Linked DNA regions of Homo sapiens: region 1 is linked to region 2. The links are contacts of gene promoters, found by promoter capture Hi-C in human tissues and cell types (Jung and others, 2019). All regions are on one chromosome and are shown on one strand. Each heading gives the region's core, a stretch centred on a gene start or on the middle of the fragment in contact. The rest is flanking DNA. Distances are from core to core; before and after follow the strand shown.

Region 1 (7,573 bases), core at 3,625-6,124, 1.0 Mb before region 2:
CTGAATCTGGAAACGAGTTCTAAGTTATGTAAAAACACAAAGTTTTTTTTTGTGTGTGTGCAAAGTTGTAACTGAATTTTTTTAGGAATGTAATTGCTGTATAAATCAAGGAAGATTGTACTTAAGCTTATTTTGCCCAGAATTTGATCAAGGGTTGTTTAAAAAATCCCATCACCAACAACATTGCTGCTCATTGTATTTAAGTCAGTGATGTGCCCACGTTTATCAGTCTCTCTTCATTTGTACCTTTTTGCATTCTCGCTGGTTTTGCATATAGATGCAATCATTTGACTACTTCATTACATCTTCTGGTACAATCATACTCGAACATTTCCATATTGAAATGCAAATAATTTTATTACAAGTTATCTTTCCTTCTGTTTTTCTTTTACATCTATCATTAACCTTTCTACACACTATAGATTATAATCATAGATAATATAAACTTCCCATGCATAGTTTCTTTATCTTCTTTTCTTTTTTTTTCTTTGAGACGGAGTCTTGCTCTTGTTGCCCAGACTGGAGTGCAATGGTGTGCTCTCAGCTCAGTGAAACCTCCGCCTCCCGGGTTCAAGCAATTCTCCTGCCTCAGCCTCCTGAGTAGCTGGGATTACAGGCATGTGCCACCACACCTGGCTAATTTTTATATTTTTGGTGGAGATGGGGTTTCACCATGTTGGCCAGGCTGGTCTCAAACTCCTGACCTCATGGTCTGCCCGCCTCAGCCTCCCAAAGTGCTGGGATTACAGGTGTGAGCCACCATGCCCGGCCAGTTTCTATATATGATATATAAAAATGTATATATGAAACACAGAAGTGATAAGTATATGTTTTGTACATGTGATATTTATAGTACCCACCCCTGCTCCTCCTCCGTATACTAGGATAAACTGTGTGTTGGAAGGATATATTACCTATGAATTTCATTTCTCAATAGTAAAGGGGGTGAATCAAAATATTTGCTATAAAAAAGGAATGTAAGTCAGAACTACTGGCAAAATATAGGAAGGAGCAGGGCTAAGCACTACAGAGCACTGGTCTCCAAGTAAAGTATGTACTTTTAGGAGATGCAGGCAACCCACTGGGTGGGAGGAAGAGGGTGTCAGAACTTCTATTTAAGTTTTTGTATTAGAAAGTAAGAATTAAACTAAACTCATATTTAATATAAGAATGACATTGGCATTCTGATTTTATCTTTATGTCAATCTCTCTTCTCAATCAGCTCAAAAGATATTCTGAGAAAAGAATGTTCACCCCACAATGTAGAGAAGTGGATAGTGACATCTTCATTTGCTTGCAATGCACTGTGACATTGCAGTTTATGTCCATTGTATTTCAGGATTGTATTGCTGCTTTTAATGGAGCGAATCCCCCCTCCCCACCAGAAACAGCAAAGAAACAGCAACTGGAAGATAACAGAATCATGAAAGCATGATTGAAGAACAAAAAAATGGGACAGCTGACACTTCCACTTCTGTTAAGAGTTCTTTGCCAGCCACATTATTGGGTAAAATATAATACAATAATCATCATAATGGTGGTATTATATTCCACAAGAAATCAGCTGATAAAATTTGGAGTTCTCAAAAAGATTATTTAAAATAAGGATTTGGGTCTACAGTCTTTATGCTAAATACATGTTGTGCATTGAGCTATCTGATAGTATATATACACATACATATATTTTATATAATTTTAAAATAAATATGGACATCTTGGGGGTGCATACTCAAATGTTTTTACTGTAATAAGAAATGTCTAGTAATCACTGCTCTAGAGGAAGGAGCTCTAGGCTTGAAATCAGAAATCCCACATATAAGACCTAGGTCTGCCAGCTGCTATCCATGAGACCTTGGGGAAATCATTACATATTTCTGAACCCTGCATATGTCCCCAGGTTGTTCTGAAGATGATTTCTACATAGAGGTGTAAGTATATTGAGAATTGCAAAGATCTGTGCACACACACAGTGTTACACTGTTCTTCTATACTACTTCTTGACATACTTTGGTATGTCCTGACCGCATAACACAGTATCCCGCACATGGAGATAATTATAATTCTAAGTAGTGTTTATGAACAATAGAGTCTTATCACTGTTTAAATGGCTTTCCATAATTAGAACAGAGTGGAAATTCCAGTGTGCTTATTTCATTTTTCCCCTCTTAACACAGTTTCCACAAATAAATACTGTAAAGCATGGTGTTCCTGCCAAGATGTGATATCTTAGTCTTTGTCCCCATTTTTGCAGAAGGTAATCAGCTCTACTGACAGGGCAGATGAAAAAACAGTGAAATAATAGAAAGTTTAATTTGAATGTGTATGTAGATTACCTGTAGACATTTTGGAAGGCATAGGTTGCTAGAGGTCATCTCAATTGTACAGGGAGGACTATTGCATTGTCAAGCTCCCATGGCAACCTGGGCTTACTTCTGTGTAGTGCTTTCTACCATGTCTGTGTAGTTGTACATCTATTTCTACTTCTGAGTTCTTTGAAGGCAAGGACTGGGTTTCATTCATTATTTTTAATCACTGTTGCCTGGCACAGTGCTTGACACTGCAGAAGGAATGATCAACCAATACATATTTTAATGCATACTGTGAACCAAGGTCTATGATAGGCGTTGGATTGATTTATATAAATTCCAGTTATTTTTTAAAGGCAGAAAATGATAGTTGGGCTTGGGGAGATGTCAGTGAAAGGGAATAGGTGATGGGCAGTAGTGAGACTGTTACGCATTCTTTTTCCAAAGAGAAAGTGGAAGATGGACTTTTGATTGGAGAAAAATCTTGGCAGGAAGATCACCATGGAGCGTAGAAGGGTGAGGATACACCTAGGTGAGAGGAGACATTGCCGTGAGTTTCTATATTTCTTTTGGCTTGGCATCAAGTAGCGATTACATACCAACTCCTTTTAACTCTTCCCACCATAAGTAACCCAGTTGTCCAAACATTACTCATTCACATTCCCAAACCAACTACCAAAACAACATTCCAGGAGAAGCAGGAGTTTTAAAGGTTGTGCGTTATGACACCTCCATCTTTTCTTTCTAATAACAGGCTGCACAAATATAAACGTGTGATTACAGGCAGGCTATGGTTCAACTTTAATTAATCCGTTGGTTCTATAGATTAAGAATATGATTCACAAAGTTTGTTCATTAAAAAATCCATTATAAGGAAATTATTTACCTGTGCTATTTTTTTTTTTTGCTATAAAGAAATTTTCATGCTCTTTAGTCCTCAGAGTACAAGCTTTTTTTGGAGCTGAAAATACAGCAGAAACTGACCACACTAGAAAAATAAAAAGCTAAATGTTCAATTGCTGTTTTTAATTTTCATTTTTTTTTAAAAGTCAGGTTTATTGAGGTTTAATGTGCATAAAGTAAAATTTACCTTTTTTTGGTGTATAGTTCAATTAATTTTGACAAACAAATTCAGTTGTACAATGGCCACCATAAACAAAACAGAGAATATGAGAATACTTCCATCATTCCAAAAAATCCTCTTGTACCTCTTTGTGGTAAACACACTCCCTTTACCCTCTGACAATCTCTGATCTGTTTTTAGCTCTCTAGTTTGACTTTTCCTTGAATTTCATATCAATGAGCTATAACATATAGCCTTCTGAGTCTAGCATCTTTCACTTAGCATAATGCTTTTGAATTTCAAGATGTAATGTGGTCTGTTTCTTTTGTAGCATTTCATATATGGGTGTACCATATTTTTTTCCATTCACTAGTTTATGGGCATTTGGGCTATTTTCAGATTTCATGATTATGAATAAAGCTGCTCTAAATTTTCCTCATAGGTCTTTATGTAGATATTTTTATTTCAGTTGGATAAATGTCTATGAGTGAGATTGCTAGATTGTATGTTAAGTCTATGTTTAACACGATGACAAACTGCCAAACTATAATTTTGCATTCCCACTAGCAATATATGAGGGTTCCAGTTGCTCAGAATCCCTACTTGCACTTGGTATTGTCCATCAAAAAATTTTTTTTGAGTCATTCTAATAGTTGTATAGTGGTATGTTTAGAATTTGTATTTCCCTAATGTCTAATGATGTCAAGCATCTTCTTTGTGTGCTTATTTGCCATTTGTATCTCTTCTTTGATAAAGTATCAGTTCAAATCTTTTGTCCATTTTTTAATTGGTTTGTGGTTTTTTTCTTGTTATTGAGTTGTAGTTTTTTATATTTATATTCTATATGCCAGTCCTTTATAAGATTTGTATTTTTGTGACTATTTTCTCCCAGTCTTTGGCTTTTTAAAATTATTTTGACGGTGACTTTCAATAGATGACACAAACAAATGGAAAAACATCATATGCTCATGGATTGGGTGAATAATGATATTGGGTCAATATTGTTAAAATGACCATACTGCCCAAAACGAACTACAGGTTCAATGCTATTCCTATCAAATCACCAATGTAATTTTTCACAGAACTAGAAGAAACTATTCTAACATTCATATGGGACCGATGAAGATCATGAATAGCCAAAGTAATCCTAAGTGAAAAGAACACAATGAAATACAAATGGGCTATATAATGATCAAAATACATGAGCAGATGTTTCACCAAAGAGGAGATACGGATGGCAAATAGCCACATGAAAAGCTGTTCAGGCCAGACACAGTGGCTCACGCCTGTAATCCCAACACTTTGGGAGGCTGAAGTGGGTGGATCACCTGAGGTCAGGAGTTTGAGACCAGCCTGGCTGACATGGTGAGACCTCATCTCTACTAAAAATACAAAAATTAGCTGGGCATGGTGGCGCATGCCTGTAATCCCAGCTACTCAGGAGGCTGAGGTAGGAAAATCACTTGAACTTGGGAGGCAGAGGTTGCGGTGAGCTGAGATTGCTCCACTGCACTCCAGCCTGGGCGCCAGAGAAAGTCTCTGTCTCAAAACAAGAAAAAAGAGAGAGAAAAAAAAGAAAATAAAAAGAAAAGCTATTCAGCATATTTTCCATTAGGGAAATGCAAATTAAACTTCAGTGAGCTATAAGTACATACCTATTAGAAAAATACTGATAATGCCAAATACTGATGAGGATGCAGAAAAATTTGCTCTCCCATTTATTGCTGGTGGCAATATAAAATGGTACAGCTTCTCTGGACAACAGTTTGGCGGTTTCTTACAAAACTGAACATGCACCTACCATATGACCTAGCAATTATATGCTTGGACATATAACCCAGAGAAATGAAAATGTATGTTCACACCAAAACGTGTACACAAATGTTCAGTCTCAAAAGGTTACATACTGTGTGATTACACTTATATAGCATTCTCTAAATGGTAAAACTATAGAGATGGAGATTAGTAGTTGCCAGGGGCCAGGAACTGGGAAGGGAGTGTTGAGGTACACATGTGAATACAAAAAGGTAGCATGAAGGAGTTCTTTTGTGGTTATGAAATGGTTCTGTATCTTGATTTGGGTGGTGGTACAAAAATTGTACCTATACATGGGGTACAATTGCACAGACACACAATTTTTTTTTGGTTTGTGGTTTTTTCTTGTTATTGAGTTATAGTTTTTTATATTTATATTCTATATGCCAGTCCTTTATAAGATTTGTATTTTGTGAATACACATGCAGGTTAGGAAAAACAAAAACTGAGTAAGCTCTGTAGTTAAACAGTGATGTACCAATGCCAATTTTTAAATTTTAGATATTATACCCTAGCCTATAGAAGATGTCTCTATTTGGGGAAGGTGAGTCAGGAGTACACTGGACTCTACTATTTTTGCAATTTCCAACGAGTCTATAATTATTTCAAAATTTAAAAAATGTGATTACACATTTTTTTCTGCTTTTTTTTTACTACTTATATGGATGTTTAAGACACTCATTTGGATTATTTCTAGTATGTTTGTTATGGGTTTAATAGTTTATCATTTACTGAATAAACCTTACTTTCTTAGGGTTTAGATTCTTCCTTTATCATACACTAATGTCCATTTATATATAATCATTTCCTACACTCTTAGTTCCAGTGATGAATTAAATTGTGCTTCAGTTTCTTCATCTGTAAAATGGAGATAATAATAGTATATATGTCATAGAGTTCATTCCTTCAAAAACGATATTTTTGGTACCTAACCTGTGTTAGTCACTGTTCTAGTGCCTCAGGATACATGAATGGATAAAGTAGACGAAGATCAAGCGTTGTCTTTCTGGAGTGTACCGTCTAGCAGGGGAAAAGGATGACTAATAATGAATACATTGTATAGTAAGTTGGAAACAGTGCTGTGAAAAAAAGAAAAAGTGGAAAACCTAGGCAATACCATTCAGGACACAGGCATGGGCAAAGACTTCATGACTGAAAAACCAAAAGCAATGGCAACAAAAGCCAAAATTGACAAATGGGATCTAATTAAACTAAAGAGCTTCTGCACAGCAAAAGAAACTATCATCATGGTGAACAGGCAACCTACAGAAAGGGAGAAAATTTTTGCAATCTACCCATCTGACAAAGGGCTAATATCCAGAATCTACAAAGAACTTAAACAAATTTACAAGAAAAAAACAACCCCATCAAAAAGTGGACAAAGGAAATGAACAGACTTCTCAAAAGAAGACGTTTATGCAGCCAACAGACATATGAAAAAATGCTCAACATCACTGGTCATCAGAGAAATGCAAATCAAAACCACAATGAGATACCATCTCACACCAGTTAGAATGGCGGTCATTAAAAAGTCAGGAAACAACAAATGCTGGAGAGGATGTGGAGAAATAGGAACGCTTTTACACTGTTGGTGGGAGTGTAAATTAGTTCAACCATTGTGGAAGACAGTGTGGCAATTCCTCAAGGATCTAGAACTAGAAATACCATTTGACCCAGCGATCCCTTTACTGGGTATACATCCAAAGGATTATAAATGATGCTACTATAAAGACATATGCACACGTATGTTTATTGTGGCACTATTCACAATAGCAAAGTCTTGGAACCAACCTAAATGTCCAGCAATGATAGACTGGATTAAGAAACTGTGGCACATATACACCAGGGAATACTATGCAGCCATAAAAAAGGATGAGTTCATGTCCTTTTCAGGGATATGGATGAAGCTGGAAACCATCATTCTGAGCAAACTATCACGAGGACATAAAACCAAATACCACATGTTCTCACTCATAGGTGGGAGTTGAACAATGAGAACACATGGACACAGGGTGGGGAACATCACACACCTGTTGTGGGGTAGAGGGCTGGGGGAGGGATAGAATTAGGGGAAATACCTAATGTAAATGACGAGTTAATGGGCGCAGCCAACCAACATGGCACACGTATAACTACGTAACAAACCTGCACATTCTGCACATGTACCCTAGAACTTAAAGTATAATAATAATAAAAAAAGTGGAGCAGATAGGGGAGTTGGGAGATTGGCAGGTAAAATTTTAAGCGGAAAATCAGAGTGGGTCTCAAAGAAAAAGTGACAACTGTGCAAAGGCTTGAAGGAGGTAAGGAAGACCATCTTGTTAAAGAATATTAACCAAGGTAACATCAAAAGAGAAATGGAGAGACATCAAAGAATTTTGATCAAATA
Region 2 (7,805 bases), core at 3,406-5,905:
GATTACAAGCAGGCACCACCACACCCATCTAATTTTTTGTATGTTTTTGTTTGTTTTGAGACAGGGTCTTGTTCTGTCACCCAGGTTGGAGTGCAGTGGTGTGATCTCGGCTCACTACAGCCTCTGCCTCCTGGGCTCAAGCAATCCTCCCACCTCAGTCTCCCCAGTAGCTGGGACTACAGGCACGCGCCACCATGCCTGGCTAACTTTTTGTATTTTTTGTAGACACGGGGTCTTGTCATGTTGCCCAGGTTGGTCTCGAACTCCTGGGCTCAAGCCATCTGCCTGCCTGGGCCTCCCAAAGTGCTGGGATTACAAGTGTGAACCACTGTGCCCAGCCATGCCTACCTATTACTGTCATCCCCATTTTACAGTCAAGAAATCTGAGTCACAGAGAGGTTAGATAAATTGCTCAAGCTCACACAGCTGGAGAATGATGGCTCTAGTGAATTAGAGGCCCTTAGCCTCTCTGCTATGTGTACCCAGGAAGGGTCTCCTGGCCCCTGGGTTCTCAGCCCCTCTGCTCTGACTCCTGGCTCTGTCTGAATCTTGGCATCTCCGAGCTGCAGGAACACTGGAGGCTGTCCATTCCAGCCCCAGTGGATGCCAGGATCTCTCCAGTGAGGAGAGCCACAAGTCCTGGTGCCACTTTTTATTAGTCATAAGACCAACAGCCCCTTGCCCTATAAGCCTCAGTTTCCCCATCTGAAAAATCGGTCCAGTAATGCCAGCTGCATGGTGTTGGTGAAAGGACCACATAAGATAAAGTGACTTATAAACTCTCAAGTGTTGGCCGGTCATGGTGGCTCATGCCTATAATCCCAGCACTTTGGGAGGCTGAGGCAGTGGATCACCTGAGGTCAGGAGTTCAAGACCAGCCTGGCCAACATGGTGAAACCCCGTCTCTACTAAAAATACAAAAACTAGCTGGGTGTGGTGGCAGGCACCTATAATCCCAGCTACTCAGGAGGCTAAGAGAATCACTTGAATCCGGGAGGCAGCGGTTGCAGTGAGCCGAGATCGTGCCCCTGCACTCTAGCCTGGGCAAGAGTGAAACTCCGTTTCAAAAATAAAAATAAACTGTCAAGTGCTCTGCAGTTGTTGGTTGTCTAGTCATTTGCCCAAAAGACCCTCTTCTTCTCCCTGAGGCTGCTGTCTGTTCTCACTCAGAAGCCTCTCACCTGCCCCAGACTCCCAGGGTGCCTTCCCCATATTCCCACCACCCCTAGACTTTCCTCCTATCACCCAGGGTCCTCAATACTGAAGGAAAGCTCCCCACAACTCTGGGAGGCTCCCATACAGTCCTCTCCCTTATCACCTCGTCCCCTGCCCAAGCCAGCCCACCCAGGGGGCTCACACTTATAGTAGGCAAACTGCAGGTAGTGGTACATGGTGGCCACGAACTTGTCCACGAAGTAGCCACCCACATTGGGGGTCAAATTGGCCTCACAGTCCACCTTGCACTGCAGGGACTCTGCAAAGAGATCTGAGGGTGGGAGGCAGCAGTGAGAGGCTGGCATTGCAATGAACATCTCCGTCCCCCCAGTGGAGAAGACTCTAAATCCAATCTCTGCCTACTAAGCCAAGCTGCTTGTCCAGAAAATGTGTTGCTGTTGCAATCACAGGAGAGAATGTCTGTAAAGTGCTTGGCATACTATATGACAAGTGATGGTGAGGAAGATGACTGTGGGCTGGGCTGACTCACCACCCCTGCCACTCAACCACCACCCCAAGCCAGAGGGAGCCAGGGCATTCTGGGAGAGCAGCAGGTGAGGTCCAGAAATGGGGCAGAAGTCCAAACAGAGAAGCTAAAGGACAGTCTTTTTTTTTTTTTTTTTTTTTTGAGACAGAGTCTCGCCCTGTCGACCAGGCTGGAGTGCAGTGGCGCGATCTGGGCTCAATGCAACCTCCGCCTCCCAGGTTCAAGCGATTCTCCTGCCTCAGCCTCCCGAGTAGCTGGGATTACAGGTGCCCGCCACCACGACCAGCTAATTTTTGTACTTTCAGTAGAGACGGGGTTTCACCATGTTGGTCAGGCTGGTCTTGAACTCCTGACCTCGTGATCTGCCTGCCTCGGCCTCCCAGAGTGCTGAGATTACAGGTGTGAGCCACCACACCTGGCCAAGTACAGTCCTTTCTGCCCCTGCTCGAGGGACCCCAGGGTTAGAGATCCCAAGACTAGGTGTAATTTCTGGTTATCAACTGCTTTCTGCACACATCTGCTGGGTTACTTCTCACCGCTGCACCTTTGCATCTGCACTGCCCTCTGCCTGGAAGGCCTATGAACCCAAGCTTCCCAAACCCTTTAGGGATGTCACTGCCTCTACTCACTGATCCAGCCCCTTGGACACTCCCAGCTGGGGCCCCTGCACCCAGCGTCTTTCTCAACAGACAAGGCCTTCCTCCCGGCTGGCTCCTCCGCATTCGCAGTGCTCCACGTGCATGAAGGGGACATCTGCCTTACCGGGCCCTGTGGGTGAGAGGACCGCCCACCGTGGTCTGGGTGGCAGATACCTGCTATGGCCGGGTAGAAGTCCTTGAAGTCCACCTGCTCATGGGCCCCTTCACAGCCGGCCAGGCACCGGGCAAAGACTGCCAGGTACTCTGACAAGGCCCGCTCCATGTCCTCCGTGCTGCTGCGGAAATCCCCGCTGTTGTAGAGCTTCACAGCCCGGAGGAACACGGCCTGGAAGGGGCGTGGCAGGGGGAGTCAGGGCGCCCCCAACATCTCCCCTCCTCTACTAGCCCTCCTCTACAAGCCTCCTCCTGACCCTCCACCCCACCTCGTAGGGCTGGGCCTCTAGGTCCGTGAGGGACTCGTCGGCGACGTCCAGCATCCCCTGATAGTAGTTGAGATACTTGGCGGTCAGCTCGTGCTTCGGGTTCCTCTGGAGGAAGGTGTAGGCCGCCGCCACCGCCTTCTCCAGCCGGTTAGCCTGGTCGGGGGGTAGGGGGTGGGGGAGCGGGTCAGCAAGACCGGAGCTCGCGGCCCCGAGCGCACGGCGGGCTTCGTGCCTTGGGTGAAGATAACGCTCCTTCGACCGATCTGTGGGGAGCCACGACGCCCAGCCCGAGACAGGTCCCCGGGTGGGGGCGGGCTCCCACCTTGAACAGCGCGTAGTGCAGGTACTGGTAGGGCAGGCGGCTCTGGAAGTCACGCAGCAGCTGCCGCGGCGGGTAGGGCACCTGGAAGGCGGGCAGCGTCCGCTTGCAGCGCCGCAGGCAGGCGGCTCGCTCCAGGACGCGGCCGAAGAGCCGCAGCTCGCAGGCCCACTCGTCTGCGCGGCCGCCGTCGGGATCGGGCTTGGCCGCGGGCGCGGGGCCGCTGCAGTTGGCGTGGCAGAAGGCCTCGCTGTCGCGCAGGAGCCGGTGCAGCCGCAGCGCCGCCTCCAGGTAGCGCGCGCTCTCGCGCCAGCTCTCTCCCTCGTACTGCTCCAGAGCGTGCCCGTACGCCGCGGCCAGCGGCATCAGGTCCTCGGGCGGGAAGCCCCGGAAGCTGTACTTCTCGTACTGCGCCCCGGCGCTGCCCAGCAGCAACCACAGCAGCCCCCACGCCACCCGAGCCATGCCCGCCGCGCCGCCGGCTCTCCGGAGCTGAGCTGGCTGCCCCGCGGACGGAAGGGGACAGGGCCGGGCCCCGGGCGGGCGGCGCGCCCGCTGGGTCTTAGCGCCGGGCACGAGGCGGCAAGGTGGGGCGGGGCCTGGGTCACGACGTCTCCCCTCTTTTCCCAGAGGGTCCGATAGTGTCGTTAAGTCCTCTCCGTCGGCCCGGGCTCCTGCCTTGGGGGTGTCCCCTAGGTAGAGAATGCGTCGGGGAGCGCTTCCCGCCAGAGATGGGAAGCCCAGGAAGCCCCTCCCCATGCAAACAGTGCCCCCGCCTGAGATCAGGACACTGAGTGAGGGCCGCCTCCTCTGCGCTGCCCATACGAGAAGGAAGCCCTGGAGCCGGGCCTTCCGTCGCTGCGCCCTCCTGCACCCTCCGAGTGTCTCCCCCGCCCACGTCGGAGGCACACACCTGCTGTCACCTGCACACCTTGCGCTGCCACCACCCCCCACTCCATCTCCGTGCCCGTCACATCCCAAGTCACAAAGTCCTTCTTTCAGTCCAGCTTTTGCGGGACCAAGCTGCTCTTCCCTGGAGATGCCTTCCCTTGGAGTACAGCTGGGGTCACGGATGAGCACGGAGATGCCTCTCACACTCCGCGGCTTCACCACCCACCTGGAGGGGACTAGAATTCGAAGTGCCCGCGAAAGAAGCAAGGTTCATCTCCGCCCGGCTTTAGGACCCGGGGGCTCCGGAAAAAGTCATTGAACTTTTTTTTTTTTTTTTCCTTTGGTGTCCACTCAGAGTTCTCATCTTTCCCGAGCCTCTCTCCCTGGCCAGGCCCCAGGTCTCGCAGCCAGGGATGGAGATGGGGGGAGGGGGAACCTAGAGTTCTTTGTAGTGCCTCCCTCAGACTCTAACACACTCAGCCTGGCCCCCTCCTCCTATTGCAACCCCCTCCCCCGCTCCTCCCGGCCAGGCCAGCTCAGTCTTCCCAGCCCCCATTCCACGTGGACCAGCCAGGGCGGGGGTAGGGAAAGAGGACAGGAAGAGGGGGAGCCAGTTCTGGGAGGCGGGGGGAAGGAGGTTGGTGGCGACTCCCTCGCTCGCCCTCACTGCCGGCGGTCCCAACTCCAGGCACCATGTTCCCCGCGGGCCCCCCCAGCCACAGCCTCCTCCGGCTCCCCCTGCTGCAGTTGCTGCTACTGGTGGTGCAGGCCGTGGGGAGGGGGCTGGGCCGCGCCAGCCCGGCCGGGGGCCCCCTGGAAGATGTGGTCATCGAGAGGTACCACATCCCCAGGGCCTGTCCCCGGGAAGTGCAGATGGGGGATTTTGTGCGCTACCACTACAACGGCACTTTTGAAGATGGCAAGAAGTTTGATTCAAGGTAACCCCGGTTGGGCGCCCCCGGATTCACCACTCCGTCCCCTGAACCCGGGGTCCTGTTTCCTTGTTGCCTCTTTTAAGCTCTGCATCCCAATACTCTAACCCTAGACAGCACCCCTGGGGCCTCCCAGACACCCATCTCCCCAAAGATACCCTCCTGCCCCCACTTCCAAACCCTCACTTCTCAAAGGATCCCATTTCTTTCTCACAAGCTCTCCACATCCCGGAAAGGACTCGATAATCAAGGTGAACTGCCTTGTGTAGTTACCAGGGCTGTATGTAATGACCTGATGGAGAGGGGTGTTCTGATCTACAGTGTTGGGGGGAAGGGGGTGGTCCCTGCTGCTTAAGAACCCTGGGATGGTCTATCAGCCTGGACCCCGTACCTTTCCACCCACCCTGACTCCCCTTCTGGTTCCACTGTTTTCAGTGCCTTTGTGGTCAGAGAAGAGGGAATAGAACTTTTTTTTGGAGGGGGTGGGAGTTTTCAGCGGCTGGTGGGCAGGGAAAAAGGCTGGTGGGTATTATAAGAAGACAGCCGGCTGGACCTGGGGGTAGCGCGTGGCTCCCTGCGGAGGCCCTGTCTACGTGTCACACAGTCGGACATGCCACCCTGGGCTCCTTGGAGGAATTTCATTCCTCCCTCTCTGGTTCTCCTGGAACCCTCATCTCTCTCCATTTTAGGTACACCAGGCCAGAGGCACAGGCCGCCCATTTTTGCCAGCCTTGGGGTTTGTAAGGTGGCCTCCTGGTCTGACCCAGGCCTTTGGTCTGCCCCAGCAAGTCCACTTTTGTTAGCGGGGACAGGGCAGGGCTGTATGCCAGCCTCAGGGGTAAATCTAGGGTCCCAGTTACACACAGACCCCACAGCACACTGAAAGAAGTCAGTGTTTCTTAGACCCTCCTCTGAAACACACAACTCAGCCCACAGGAAATTAGTGGCCATGACTTTAGAGGCAGGCATATATTGGGGTAAGCCTACAAACTCCAAGAGTCCCAAGACCCTGGTTCAAATCCAGGCTATGACCATGGACAGAGAATTTTGTCTCTTTAGGCATCACTTTCCTTATCTGAAAAGTGGAGACAAAAACAGGACCTACTTGCTAAGGCTGATGTTAGGACTCCAAGGACATGGATGAATGAACGTAGGCTTCTCACAGGGCCTGGCAGTCCTCCAGCCAGTTCAGCACACATTAACATTGACCCTGAGGAAAACCATATGACCTGATGCTGTGGAACTTGTAGAAACTTAATGCAGAGCTTAAGCCTTCATAACAACACTGAGAAGGAAACAGTCCAGACTTAAAACCTGTCTGCTTGGTGGGCAAATTCAGATATAGGGTAGTAGCCAGAAGTGCAGCCCTGAGCCCTTGACTGCTAGGAGTGAGGCAGGGGTTGGGATTTAGGGGATGTCATCCCTGATGGGGACTCTGGGAGCCCAGCTCATGAGTGTTGAGCTTGGAAAACTTTTTGTTTTTTAGCTGGAGGCTCACTCTGTCGCCCAGGCTGGAGTGCAGTGGTGCCATCTCAGCTCACTGCAACCTCCTGGGTTCAAGCAATTCTCCTGCTTCAGCCTCCCAAGTAGCTGTGATTACAGGCGCATGCCACCACGCCCAGCTAATTTTTGTTTGTTTGTTTGTTTTTGTTTTTTGAGACACAGTCTCACACTGTTGCCTGGGCTGGAGTGCAATGGAGCAATCTCAACTCACTGCAACCTCCGCCTCTGCCTCCCAGGTTCACGTGATTCTCCTGCCTCAGCCTCCCGAGTAGCTGGGATTACAGGTGCACACCACCACACCCGGCTAATTTTTTTGTATTTTTAGTAGAGAGGGGTTTCACTATGTTGGCCAGACTGGTCTTGAAAAAGGCGGGTGGGTATTATAAGAAGACAGCCAGCTGGACCTGGGGGTAGGGCATGGCTCCCTGCGGAGGCCCTGTCTGTCTACGTGTCACACAGTCAGACATGCCACCCCAGCCTCGTGATCCGCCCACCTCGGCCTCCCAAAGTGCTGGGATTACAGGCGTAAGCCACGGCGCCCAGCCTTAATTTTTCATATTTTAGTAGAGATGGCGTTTCACCATGTTGCTCAGGCTGGTCACAAACTTCTGAGCTCAGGCAATCCACCCTCCTCAGCCTCCCAAAGTGCTAGAATTACAGGCGTGAGCCCCCGCGCCCACACAACTTAGAAAACTTTTTTTTTTTTTGAGACAGAGTCTTGCTCTGTCCCCCAGGCTGGAGTGCAGTAGCGCGATCTCTGCTCACTGCAAGCTCCGCCTCCTGGGTTCACACCATTCTCCTGCCTCAGCCTCCCGATTAGCTGGGACTACAGGCGCCTCCACAATTTTTTTTGTATTTTTAGTAGAGACGGGGTTTCACCATGTTAGCCAGGGTGGTCTCCATCTCCTGACCTCATGATCTGCCCGCCTCGGCCTCCCAAAGTGCTGGGATTACAGGCGTGAGCCACTGCGCTCGGCCAGAAAACTTTCTTAACCCATGGCCCCTTCAATTAAAAAAAAAAAAATCTCCCATCCTCACTTTACTTCTGAAAACTTAAAATAAATTAAAAGTGTATATAATTGGCTGGGCACAGTGGCTCACTCCTGTAATCCCAGCACTTTGGGAGGCCCAGGCAGGCAGATCACTTGAGGCCAAGAGTGACCAGCCTGGGCAACATGGCGAAAGCCCTCTCTACTAAAAATACAAAAATTAGCCAGATATGGTGGTGCATGCCTGTGATCCCAGCTGCTACTTCGGAGGCTGAGGCAGGAGAATCGCTTAAACCCGGGAGGTGGAGGTTGCAGTGAGCTGATTGCACCACTGCACTCCAGCCTGGGTGACAGAGCCGAGACTCCATCTCCAAAAATACATATGTAT

The links. Contacts are between HindIII fragments. The study calls those that stand out against the background at their distance.
Region 1: a contact is called between a fragment that was not itself captured here and the fragment with the promoter of FKBP10 in region 2, in 1 of the 25 tissues and cell types used here (small bowel).

The regions. Positions count from the first base shown.
Region 1 is chr17:40,807,810-40,815,382 of GRCh38, forward strand. It overlaps LOC105371776 (a long non-coding RNA gene), which reads left to right. Exons shown (of 4, transcript XR_934753.2): 2 at 1,340-1,507; 3 at 2,754-2,838; 4 at 6,139-6,319. Among named protein-coding and RNA genes, the nearest start is that of KRT10-AS1, 7.5 kb to the right of the region's middle. The HindIII fragment of the contact is 6,368 bases long and covers 1,691-7,573 here.
Region 2 is chr17:41,808,349-41,816,153 of GRCh38, forward strand. FKBP10 (FKBP prolyl isomerase 10) reads left to right here and starts at 4,656. Exons shown (of 10, transcript NM_021939.4): 1 at 4,656-4,931. The coding sequence starts at 4,687. P3H4 (prolyl 3-hydroxylase family member 4 (inactive)) reads right to left here and starts at 3,601. Exons shown (of 8, transcript NM_006455.3): 1 at 3,106-3,601; 2 at 2,784-2,936; 3 at 2,515-2,686; 4 at 1,358-1,486. The coding sequence starts at 3,567. RefSeq lists a silencer at 3,231-3,720 and enhancers at 3,861-3,970, 6,457-6,958, 6,959-7,458. The HindIII fragment of the contact is 16,914 bases long and covers 1,120-7,805 here.